Regions from separate parts of the Homo sapiens genome. Here region 2 is linked to region 1. Evidence: promoter capture Hi-C in human tissues and cell types (Jung and others, 2019). All regions are on one chromosome and are shown on one strand. Each heading gives the region's core, a stretch centred on a gene start or on the middle of the fragment in contact. The rest is flanking DNA. Distances are from core to core; before and after follow the strand shown.

Evidence for each region. The method cuts DNA at HindIII sites, captures the fragments that hold promoters and counts their contacts. A contact is called where the count stands out against the background at its distance.
Region 2: a fragment that was not itself captured here is called in contact with the fragment with the promoter of EMP1 in region 1 in 1 of the 25 tissues and cell types used here (neural progenitor cells).

The regions. Positions count from the first base shown.
Region 1 is chr12:13,192,723-13,199,389 of GRCh38, forward strand. It overlaps EMP1 (epithelial membrane protein 1), which reads left to right and starts at 4,004. Exons shown (of 5, transcript NM_001423.3): 1 at 4,004-4,150. RefSeq lists an enhancer at 6,044-6,544. The HindIII fragment of the contact is 16,024 bases long and covers 1-6,667 here.
Region 2 is chr12:13,236,227-13,242,893 of GRCh38, forward strand. No RefSeq gene overlaps it. Among named protein-coding and RNA genes, the nearest start is that of EMP1, 43 kb to the left of the region's middle. The HindIII fragment of the contact is 6,427 bases long and covers 39-6,465 here.

The sequences.
Region 1 (6,667 bases), core at 2,754-5,253:
CCAGAAGAAAATGGGCTGGGTGTGGTGGCTCACACCTGTAATCCCAGCACTTTGGGAGACTGAGTTGGGCAGATTATCTGAGCCCAGCTACTCTGGTGGTTGAGGTGGGAGAATTGCTGGAACCTGGGAGGCAGAGGCTTCAGTGAGCCAGGATTGTGCCACTGCATACCATCCTGGGAGACAGAACGAGACTCTGTCTCAAAAACAAAGCAAAACAAAAAATTAGCCAGGTGTGGTGGCACACGCCTGTAGTGCTAGCTACTCAGGAGGCTGAAGTGGGAGGACCGCTTGGGTCCAGGAGGCGGAGATTGCAATAAGTCGAGCTTGCACCACGGCACTCCAGCCTGGGTGACAAAGCGAGACCCCGTCTCAAAAAAACAAACAAAAACAAACAAAAAACCCAAAAAACAACAAAAACACCCCCAAAAACCATAAAGAAAGCCAGAAGAAAGCCTGAGAGAGAAATAGAGAGAGGAGAGTTGGAGAAAGAAAGAAAGGAAAGGGAAGGAATACAACATTTCTGGTAAATTCTCAAATTTCAAAGAGGAGTTGTGAGGAACAAACATTCCTTTGACTTGGGAAGATACTGTGTAACTTTTTCCCCCATTCTATTTACCTTCCAAGCAGTGTGTGCTAATATTAATATTGACATCCCTGTTCATATAATAGCTTTGGGGAACATGTTGCATAGTTTGGGATTCTTTTCGGTTAACTGAGTTTGAACAAAAACAAGTTCAAGCTATTATTAGTTTTCTTTTCTGTGGGCTGTAGGGGCCAGACCTGCCTTAGTAGACTTCTTGTATCAGTCATTAAAAGCCTTCGTTTCATGCATTCATTAAAATGTTTACGCCGGTTCAAACTTGAAAATCTGCCCCAAATGGCAACGTGCCAGAAGTTGATTCTTGTTGCTTCCGAAAAAGGGGAAAATATCCCTTTGCTGGAGTAACATTTGCACTGGGTGAGAGAGACATTCCCTCCCAAGAATATATGGCTTTATTGAGTGAGGTCAAATGAAACTTTGTCCGGTTCTTTGCCCATGCAGAAAATGAATGTGTCTAATTTACCTTCCAAATGGGGGAAATGGGAGCAGAAAGGCAGCTTACTCGACATTGTTTGGAAAGACCATATAAACGCCAGGGGAGCTGTATCTCCAGCCCCATGTGGTTTTAGGCCCTGAACCGTTTACTGTCTGTAGTCTCAAAATTGTCTGCTCATAGCCAAAGGAACACTCAGGCTTAACGAGTTAATCACATCCAGAGGCACAAAAAGCTAGAACTTCAGCCAGAACAGATCCAATTGCTTTCCCAGACTGGATAACTTTGTTTTATAAAATAAGCTCAGTGATATTTCAAGGGTTAATTATAAGTCTTTAGAAATCCTGGACTTGCATTCATCTTTTAAAAATATTTACACAACTTGGCTTTCTATGGCACCACTCTGTGTGTGCATGTGTGCATGTGTGTGTGCGTGCATGTGTTTTTGCATGTGTGCATGGGTGTGTTTTCACAGCTCAATGCATTTAATATTTTCTCTCCAAACCTAGACATCTCCAAAAGCACACAGGAAGGTGAGATTTATCAGACCCATTTGGAAGGTGATGCTGTCTACTCACTTTAAGGTGAAATGGAGGCAGGCAGATGCCTCGCTCACAGCCACTGCCAGGTAGTAGGCGTGGAAACTGGGCCTCCTGCTTTCTGGGTCCTGTTTTGAAGCCCGTCCCTGAGCCCAGCGTCTCTCTTTGTGAAATCCATGGAAATCCAGATAGACTGAAGGATTCCTCTACTCAAGTACTTTAAGAAAAGTTCCTGATTTTTCCCCTTGTTAAGCCCGAGAAGGAGGTGGGAGGGAGAATGCCTCCCCTCTGCTATTCCTTGGCTCCAGGTTTCTCTTTAAGAAATGCAATCAGACCACATACTCCTCAGCATCTGAGAACACTTCCTCTGGAGTCCAGTTCTCCTTTCCAGGCAGCTGAGGGAAGAGAGACTTTAAAACTGGCAGAGGGCATCAGGGGTGAAAGGCAACCCTGAGAGTAGGAAAAGGCCAGGGAGACAGGCCGATTCCAGCAGGGGAGACTGGCCCATCTGGAGCGCCAGCACATGCCTGGGGATTTCCTGGCCTCACCTGCAGACACCCTCCCCTCCCTGAGGGTTGGGATGCTCAGAGATCACAGGGACTCTCAACCCACTGCTGGGAGTGGCCCCTCTCAGACAGGCATTTTTATTATCAAATGAGCAATGAGAGAGGGGAGAGGTGAGGAACTCTATGAGAAACATGCAGTCTTTTATCACGTCATCAGTTTTCAGTGAGAAAATCCAGACCTTCTTACTTTTACAGAGATAGAATTCAGTTCTCAGGGACTTGTGAAGATGCAGCATCATCAAATCATTGTGTGTGTGTGTGTGTGTGTGTGTTGTGTTTTCCTTATCATCCACCTTAGAAAATATTCTCCACATTCCCATGTTAAAATATTTTTTCCTAAAATCCATCCATCCACATGCCAACATCCTAAAGACAGTAATATAGGTTCATTGCAGAGGATTTGGAAAATACAGAATTGTGACCAGAACAAACTAAACTGCATCCATAATTTTATCATCGAATTTGATCAACATTTTGGTGAATAGCCACCAGTCTGTTTTCTATCTTTTTAGGGAATATAAGTTCCAAGAGGCAGGGATGTCATTCACTTCTGTGACTCAGTGCTCTGAATCAGGCCCAGTGAAGACTGACGTGCAGCCTGTATTGGCAGAATGAATGAATAAATACTACACACGCATATTTTGAATTGAAATAAGTTGTCAGGGTGCAGCAGAGAATAACAGAAATAGAATTGCTTGGATGTGCTGACCTAGATCCAAGCTGCTACTGGTAACGTACTGTATCTCCTTGAATAAGTCACTTCACCTCTCTGGGCCTGAGCTGCTTCTTCAGTAAAATAATCCTTGTAGCTAAGATTTGTTGAGCGCTCACTATGCACACTGCCATGAGCCCCTATATGTGTATTTCTCATCATAGCTCTATGAGTTACATACCTGCCATCTCCATTTTATGCATGAGAAAATAGGCATGGAGAAGTTAAGTGGTTTGCCTAAAGTCACACAGCAAATTTGTGGAGAGCTGGGCTTGAACTCAGGCATCTGGGCTTTTACTCTCTCCAGTGGAATGCCTGGGCTGTGGGATGAGATGACTTCACAGGCCTCTCCCAGCTCCAGAGTTGAGAGAGAGAGAGGAGTGGTGCAGGGAGGTAGTAGGGATGATTATGCTACTGGCCAAGTTCAAGAAAGTCAATTGTAGAACAAGGTCCAGCTGATTATTACAGAGAGCAAAGTTCTTAACTAGAGGACTTCCTCCTGGAATGTGGAGAGTCCACACGGGCACTAGCAGAGCATAATGAAAGACCAGGAATTCTCTGCTGTTCAATCAGTGCTCCATCACTCAGAGGCAGGGCTGCAAGAGCTCCTAGTGTGTCCCCTTCGCCTTCAGGGCCTCCCTGTACAGCCACCCACAGGACAGTGCACCAGGGTCAGGCAGGGAAGTAAATAAAAAAAGGAATCTGATAATTCCTGACAGTGAGCAGCAGCTGATGCTTTTAATGGGGGAGGAAGACTGGGAATCTCGCTTGATGATGACCTAGGACTTCAGTCAGCAGGACACTGGCCCCTTTCCTCCCCCTCCCAGGCTGAAACCTTGTGTTTTGCCTTATGTCCATGGTAACCAAGTCTCCTTTTTGGTGAGGAGGAATGGGCTTCAGTAAACAGATCTATTTGTGTGATCCTGTTACTCATTTGAAGCAATGTCCCTCCTTTTTTCCACTGTGGTCTGTGTGTCTGAGTCAGAGAGAGCCTACAACAGGGTTCTTTGAATTGATGGCTCACTCCCAGCCACTCTTGACTGACTGCCAGCTTAGCAGGGCGTAGCTTACCAACAAATCTTTTTTTTTTTTTTAAAGCCAGACTGATTCATAGAAACTCCTTTAAAACACGGTGAAAAGAAACCGCCCATTACACACCCCAGTACACCAGCAGAGGAAACTTATAACCTCGGGAGGCAGGTCCTTCCCCTCAGTGCGGTCACATACTTCCAGAAGAGCGGACCAGGGCTGCTGCCAGCACCTGCCACTCAGAGCGCCTCTGTCGCTGGGACCCTTCAGGTAGGACAGCTCCCAACGCTGTGGGGACTCTCAGCAAAACTTCTCCTTCCTTTCCACGGCTCTGCTTCTTCTGACCTCATCTTAGTTTTGCTTTTTCTTTTCTTCCTTCGCTATTTTTCTATGATCCTCTAAGAACCAAGTCCTTGAAACTTTTGGCTCAAAGTGGATACAGAGACAACTTTTTCTAGAAAGTTCAGAAAAGTGTATTTTGAGGACGGAGTCTGGGGAAATCAATGGGATGGGGCTAAAATCGTGCCTGGCAGTGACCGGGTTCTTGTTCTAGGATGTGGAGGGAGCAGGGACTTTGAAACAAACTGGGATAGGATCCTGTTTATGGAGGAAACACCACACACCTTGGAAATGACATCGGGAACTGGCCAGATGTTTTTCACCTCCTCCGTTTTGATTCCGATTGCTTCAGGACTTGAACTGTTACTCTGCTCGCTGGTTGTTGGTTGGGATTTTTTGGGTGGTGGTGGATAGATAACTGGTTTTCAGTTTATTTTTGACATTGCTTTTCCTGCCTGTTTGCTTCCCTATTCACTTCTGTTTAAATTTAAGTATTTTTTTTCTCCTCACAGGATGGGAAGAGGGGGATTGGTTTGTTTAAAGAAAACTGTTGGCCGGGCACGGTGGCTCATGCCTGTAATCCTAGCACTTTGGGAGGCTGAGGCGGGCGGATCACCTGAGGTCAGGAGTTCAAGACAAGCCTGGCCAACATGGTGAAACCCTGTCTCTACTAAAATACAAAAAGTAGCCAGGCATGATGGCAGGTGCCTGTAATTCTAGCTACTTGGTAGGCTGAGACGGGAGAATTGCTTGAATCCGGGAGATGGTGGTTGCAGTGAACTGAGATTGCGCCACTACACTCCAGCCTGGGCAGCTGAGTGAGACTCTGTCTCAAAAAGGAAAAAAAAGAAAAAGAAAAAAAATGAAAAAAGAAAACTGTTAGAGAGAGAAAGAGAGGGAGGCAAATGGTGTTTTAAATGAAACGTGGGAGGGGTTCACTTGGTCGAAGCAGGAGCTGATGAGGATTCCAGATGCCTTCTCTTGGCCAGATGTGGAGGGCGGGGGAGGCAAAAGGGAAGCTGGGTTTGGAGAAGAGGGTGGGGCAGGAGAACTTCATCTGTGCCTGTTAAAAATTGTTGAGTGGCTTTGTGCTTTCACCCCAGAAAGAGCTGCCTTTCAGTGCTGAGTGAAAAGATGGCATACCAGAAACGATAAAAGAACTTTTAAAAGAAAGTGGATGTGGAATTTCTTTGCATGGAAGGCAGTGATTGTTTTGAAATGCTTATCTTTTCTCTTGTTCCCGAAATGTGATTGTATAAATGCAAACACTCATGCTAATCATGAAATCTGGAGGAATGAAGAAGGGTGCTTTTTCTTTTTTTTCTTTTTTTCTTTTTTTCGGTTAGCATTTTGGGTGAGTGTCTACCGAGGTGTGGCCCATTTCAACATAGACACTGGTATATTTTTTCCCCAAGTAAACAAGATGAGAATGACAGGATTCAGCTTGTCTGACAAAGTTAGGCTTTTCCTTTAGAAAGGCAGTACGTTGGGAGAGAAGTTACATGTAATCAACCCTGTGTTGAGCAGGCAATGCTCCTTGTAAAACTGCCCCAAGGGGGACGATTGAGTAGGCATCAGGGCAACTTTTCAAGATGAAGGGAACTCCTACATTTGCTTCACATGTTTATTATTTCCACATTACATGGATGTGGATTAGCCATTATTAAATCAATAGTGTTAATATCCTGTGAAAATTATACAAATCTTTTAGTTCTGTGCAGGTTAAAACTAATAACCAGTCAACACACGGAAAGCCCTGACAATGTTGGGAGTGTAAACCATCATGAACTGCATTATTTGTGGCAAGGTTTCACATGATACTGTAGGTTTATAAAGGAGAAAATATGCTACATGTTACTTCCTGGAGTTTGAAGACAATTTAGAAAAATACCGTTCTGATTCCTGCTCTCTGCTCTTCCTCCAAGAAGTAGTGAAAGAGTCCCTTAGCTGTGAGAGTTTTTCTGGATTTCAGCTTTGACAATCCCGAAATGTGAGGGTTATTTTTCCCCCCCACTCTGCCCGCTGCCTCCCACCCTCAGGGGCAGATCCAATTCCACCCAGACTCCGAAGAATGGGGCGGGGGCGGGGGCTGCAGGACATCCTGTCTGGCGCCCTGGTCAGAGGGCCCCCCACATTTACATTGTTTGTGGGTACTAAACTGTCTTGGGAGTTGGCAAAAGGCCATCAAGAACCAACTTGGAGCAAATCACATCCTTAGAATCTGGCTATCTCCCAGGACTGCTGGGCAGACCGCTGGGGAAAGGAAAGAGATCCCTTCTGTGGAGAGTGGAAAGGACTCACTGTGCCTTCCTCAGCCCTTCCTGCTTCCTCCAGAGACCAGATTAGGCCCATCAAGTTCCCAGCCTTGTCAGTGGGCTTCATGGAGACCCCTCACCCGGGAATGTAGACCCTCTTGGCTTGCTCTGGGTGGCTCTAGGGATTTCAGGT
Region 2 (6,667 bases), core at 2,002-4,501, 43 kb after region 1:
TCTATTTCTGGGTGAAGGAATATATATATATATATTCTCTTGGGCACATCCTACTTAAAAAAAGGAGATTAACCATATTACATCCCTGACTTGCACCATGTGGCTTAATAAGCAAGACATGTCATAAAGTTAACAGTTAGTTCTATGGCTTATAGCAGTGTAAACTAAATACCTGAGTGTAGTTTCTAGAGTAATTAGAGTCTGGTGGGATTGGGACAGGTTTCCACATTCCCTAGGGTTTCTGAATAATCCTAGGCCAAGCTTGGATCTTAAGTACTTTCTTTACTTTTTTTTTTTTTTGAGACAGCAGCTCACTCTGTCACCCAGGCTGGAATTCAGTGACACCATCACGGCTCACTGCAGCCTTGACCTTCTTGGCTCTATCGATCCTCCCACCTCAGCCTCCCGGGTAGCTGGGACTACCGGTGTACACCATCATGCCCAGCTAATTTGTTGTATTTTTTGTAGAGATGGGTTTTGCCATGTTGCTCAGGCTTGTCTTGAACTCCTGGGCTCAAGCAATCCACCTGCCTAGGCCTCCCAGAGTGCTGGGATTACATGTGTGAGCCACTGTGCCTGGCCTGATCTTAGGTATTTTGAAGACCAATTAACTGGGGTTTCTTCTTGACTGTCCAGGGATACTTTTTGTTTACTACTGATCTGTCAGAGACCTTGAAAATCATCCCTGGCCAAGGCTCAGAGGTTTCTTAAGGGGCCAGCTAGAGCTTGGCATTATCAAGGCTTGCCATGAAGAGAAAATGCCCCCAAGACCCACCCAGGGTCAGATCTTTCATGCTCATGTGAACTTGTAGAATAATTATTCCAAAGTCCCAGCCACTACCCAGAAAGCAGTATATAGTTAATACGTTCCTGGCAAATATAAGTCCCTCTGCATGGCTCTGCAATTTAGACTACCACTCATGAGAATAACACCAAGGCCTAGACCAACAGCATTGTGTATGTACCCTGGAAAATACTTCAGATCTCATTGATTCATCTCCCAACCAGATCAAGTATGTGAGATAAACAGCCAGTTCCATGGGATATGGTTGCTTTGTTTTATTTGAGATTGTGTTTCAAACACACCACCTACCAGTACTACTACCAGTGCTGGAATATTTGGGGTACCCATTCCTAGGCTATATGTGAGCCAAGTTCAACAGATTGTATGATTCCCCACCAAGTTCAGAGGAAGGGTTGCCCACCAGGTACTCGCCGGTCTGAGCTAAGCAACTGCAGAATGAGGGAAACACACTTAACAGATGAGGCTGTGAATGCCGGTGCTGATGTCCTCTGTTCTAAGAGCAAATGATGTCTTCCATAATATGGATGCAGTCATGGCCAAATGTATATTCAGCAGTATGTTCCTCCCATCGCTGCTCTGGGGAGATAACGGATAATGCTATTCCTCCAGTAGTGTGAAGTGAGAGGGGGTCAAGAAAACATTTTCAGTTTAGAGCAACGGGGCGTGAGATGCATCCAATCTTATGCAATCCTAAGTCCCTGGGCACGAATGGAATTTGTAACCAGCAAAGAAATTCTTTATAATAATTTAATTTGTATGTGAGATTGAGCTTGTGAGAGTGAGTGACAGAGAGGTAGAGGGGAAAAGACAGAGGGAATGAGAGGGGAGAAAGACAATGAAAAAGATGAATGAGAATGAATAATGGGAGGCAAAGATAAAGGAAAAGCAATATAAAGCAGAGAGGGGAGAGAAAAGAAGTAATAACTTCTGATAATTGCGGAAATATATCACAAACATAATTGTATAAAAGGAGGGATTTAGATAGTGAACAGGAAAGTTGAGAGCATGGCTGAAGGTAGAAGAAAGAAGGAAGAAATGAATAACAGGAAAACAAAGAGAGAAAAAAAAGGAAAACATTTCAAGGAATAGGTAGGAAACAAGATGTGCCTTGGGAATTTCAATGAATTATTTTGTCTCCCAAGTTTTAAACTTACAATGTGTTCTGCCATGACGGTCTAATTCTCAATTAAGATATGCTAATAAGGCTGACCGCATACCATATACTCGCCATGCCTGATAAGCAGTTTAGCTTCTTTTTGGGTTTGGTGGGAGAGCAGTTATGTTTCCACACTGAAGTTTCTCATTGGCTTTCCTCCTACAAAGGCGCAAAATGACCACATGTTGTTCTTACTAATATTTGTTTTAGTCTGACACACTTCGATCTCTGCCGAGTTGACTACTAACTGCTTCGTACACACTTCGTATTCCTCCACCTGCTTTCAGTTACCTTCATTAAAAATATTCACATAAATCTTTATTAATAGAGAAAAATGGATTCACTCTGGTTTATTTATCTGTGGGTAAGTTTAATTATTTTCCAGTATGCAAAGCATCTTAGGAGGCTGCAAACATGGCTCAGAAGTAACATTGCCAGAAAAGGGGAAGCTTGTGCCATAGAGTCAACTTGCTGACCTGCAAGTAACAGACAGTGAATGTTAGCTGAATGATGGTAATTGAGTGAAAATTTGGACTGCCCTTCAAGGGATGTTAGAAAGAGTATCAGAAAAGGGCAGGAAGACTTAACATATATAGTGACCAATTACTGAGCATCCAAGCATAGTGAAAATCACCGTGCATATATTATCACATTTCACAGAAGCAGAACCCATTCTTTTTCATATGCAAATTTCTCCTTAAAAATCTCTGTCCTATGATACTGTGGGAACTCTAGGCTACTTCTCGATGGCTTCTAGGCATCCCCAGGAAGTGCGTATATTCTCCTGAAATCATTGCCAAGGGCTTACTGCAGATTATCCCAGGTTTCTCCTGCTGGGCTCACCTTGCCTCTCCACAGTGCACCACAATTTCTGGTCCGCTCCATCTTAAGATGTCATTGTAGATCTTCCCTTTATTTCCAAAGCCAATGCAATCACAAAGATATGGAGAGTAGCAATGGTTAAGATTATAAGCTTTGCAGTCAAACTTCTTGAGTTCAAATCCAGGCTCTGAATCTTACTAGTTGTATGACCTTAAGTTACTTGTATGACCTCCTGTACCTCAGTTTTTTACTCAGTTTTTTTACCTCAGTGAAATGAGGCTGATAATAATACTTTTTTCCCTGGGTTGCCATGAAGATTAAATAAGTTAACTCATTCTGCGAGTTAATTTTTATGTGAGATTGAGCCCGTGAGAATGAGTGACAGAGAGGTAGAGGGAAAAAAATGGAGGGAGTGAGAGAGGAGAAAGTGGGAAAGACAATGGAAAAGATAAATGAGAATGAATAATGGGAGGTAGAGATAAAGGAAAAGCAATAGAAAGCAGAGAAGTTAATTCATTAAAATACATAGAGCACTTTGAAGAATGCTTGCTATGTTGTAAGTACTTAATAAAGTTCGTTATTAGTGACAGGTTGTAAGGGTTAGGAAATTTTTTACTGAACACATGCATTTCTTAGGTTATAAAAAAGTATAGCTTTGAGGAGAAACAATGTGAAATTGGAAAACAGATTCTGCTGCTGCTAGAATCCATTGGCCAGTCCCTAATGCAGTCTCCCAGGGTTGTCTCCCTCCTTAGTCTCTGCCATCTTGCTGGAGCCATACTCTTCCATAGTCCATGCATTCTTGTCTCCCATTATTCCCCACGTCTTGAATCACAACTCCTAGAGTCTCAAGGAAGCCAAAAACAAGTAAATAGCATGACAGTCTCTGCCCCCAAGGCCTACAACTCTTTCATTTTGCTGTTTAGAAGTCAGAGGTCTTTATGGTATTAATCCCTCCCCCTAGATTGGACACTGAGTCTTACATCTGCATAACCACAAGTCCCACTCAAGTGTTTCACAAATAAAATGACAGTCTTCGCCCCAAAGATGAATTCTCCTGGCATTCCTACGATAAGGATAGGGTTGTAGGGGGGTGGGAACCCCTCCAGAGGCTCAGGATTTGTCATTAGCATTGAACATACTAAAAACATATGCTTTGACTAAGGCAGGCTTGTTCTGAGCCCTTGAAGCATGTTTGGTGTTCTTGATGGCCATCATCTTGAAGAAAAACCTGAGGTGCTTCCAAAAATATTCTAGGCACTAAATTAGTGAAGACGTACACTTTGTGGCAATGAGTCTGCAACTGTTCCTTGAAAACATCTGATGAGGCTGGAAAATAAGGTAAATGATTATATATATATATGCTTCCCCTCGCTACAAAATATACTGCCATAATCATCCTGGCTTGTGTTTCCACCACTTTGCAGAAATAGTTTTTTTTGAAAACTGTCAGTGTTCTCCAAGATGCTGTGTCATGTGGCTTTTCTTAACCCACATCTCCCTTCTTGACTCTTTAGGATGTTTGGGATTATTGAAATTCAGTTTTTATTGGATCTCCTGGTCCTTCAGTCTCCTGATTTTCCTTGAACCTCTGTTGCTCCTTCTTAATATATATATATATATATTTTTTGGCCTTCTCTTCTTTCCCCTTTCCTTCAAGTGTTTTTATGGCCAAGGTTTTGTCCTGGACTTTTTTTCTGTTTCTTACATTTTCTCCTTTAGTAACCTGATTCATTGCTATAGCTTCACATATAATTTCTCTGTAAATGAATCCCAAATTTATATCTCTAGCTTTGACATTTCCCCTGTCCATTTCATCTTTTTTTTTTTTTTTTTTGAGATGGAATCTCGCTCTGTCGCCCAGGCTGGAGTGCAGTGGCATGATCTCGGCTCACTGCGACCTCCACCTCCCAGGTTCATGCCATTCTCCTGCCTCAGCCTCCCGAGTAGCTGGGACTACAGGCGCCCGCCACCACGCCCGGCTAATTTTTTGTGTTTTAGTAGAGACGGGGTTTCACCGTGTTAGCCAGGATGGTCTCGATCTCCTGACCCCGTGATCCACCTGCCTTGGCCTCATCTTTGTTTTTGGATATTCAGCTGAGACTTTAATCTCAAAATCTTTATCTTTAAAATCAATGGCATTTGTTAATGTCTTTTTTTCTTACTAACAATACCACAGTCTTTCACTGACACAGATTTAAAATCTCTAAGCCAATTTTTTTTTAAATCATGATGCACTATAAGAAATGCATTTTACATCATACACACACCCACACACACATATATATACATGTGCAAACACACATGTAAGTGAAACAAAATTTCCCCCAAGAGTACTTACCCTTATTATGTTTGATATACTGTAATCTGTTTTATTCCAATCTATTTCATTCCATTAAAGAATTTGGTTGTAAACCATTAAATTAATTTCATGACCCACTAAAGATACGAATTGCTGTTCCAAAAATACTGCTTTTAAATACTTTTTCATTCATCTTTCTCTTTTAACTCCCAAATCCAATCAGTAGTGAGTTTACTTTCAAAATGTCTTGTATATTCAATCTTTTTCTAAAATTTTCTCTCTGATGCTTTCAAAAGTTTACTTTTATTGGGAGGCCTTCTCCACTTTCTTCAGCTAGAGGCAATTTTACTCCCCTCTAAGTAACTCTATTTATCAGATTGTGTCTCTCTTAAATTACTTAATCACGGAAAATGTCACACCCCATAAATCTGTTTTCTTATCTTACTTTATTTTTTCTTCTTAGGTCTTGTCACTTGACAATTATATTAGTCAGGATTCTCCAGAGAGACAGAACAAATGAGATATTTCTATATTTATATGTGGATGTGGATATAGATGTAGATAGATGAGAGGCGATTTATGAGGGGAATTGGCTCACATGATTTTGGAGGCTGAGAAGTCCCATGACCAGACATCTATAAACCAGAGACCTGAAACACCAGTAGCATGACTCAGTCCAAGTCCAAAGGTCTCAGAACTAGGAAAGCCTGGGTGTAACTCTCAGTCTGAGACTGTAGGTTTGAGAACCTGGGTGATTGCTGGTTTAAGTCCTGGAGTCCCAAGGCTGGAGAGCCTGGAGTTCTCACGTCTAAGGGCAGGAGAAAGGGTGTGTCCCAGCTCCAGGAGGGAGAGTGAGGAAGTCCTTTTCTCTCTGTTTATTTTTTTTCTTGTTCTATCCTCACCCCAGCTGACTGGATGGTGCCTGTCCACATTGACAGCAGATCTTTCCCACTTAGTCCACAGGCTCATACACCAATCTCATCTGGGAAACACCCTCACAGACACACCCAGAAGTAATGCCTTACTGGTTCTCTAGGCATTCCCTAATTCAGTCAAGTTGACACCTAAAATTAGCCAATATTAAGTCTACCCCTTGCCAACTTGGCACTCATATACATCTCCTTAAGCCATACCTGACCTCCAAATAAGGACACTAACAAGGTATTAGTTCCACTTAATGTGGTATAATTATCCTGCATACACTGAAAATGGACTAATCCTGTCCTCAGAAGAGGAAGAAAAGTCCCTGGGTGATGTTTACTCTTCTCTGATATCCTATAATTAAATACTGTGATGTAAAAATTAACAATGCTTAAATATTATGATATAAAGTCAATGTATCTTATGTTACATGATAAAGGAATAAGACAGAAATGAAAACAAAGATATTTGCTTAACCTATGTAAATATACGCAAAAACACATAACAAAATAGGGAGGAAATATTCATGACAATTACAGTCCTTGTTTCTGTAACTGTTCACATGGCCATAGCGGGTATTTATAACCACCATTCAGCAAATACTTGGCTAGCTGTGGTTCTTTACTTGGTAGGGTGACCCAAAACTTCATGCCTGAAGTGT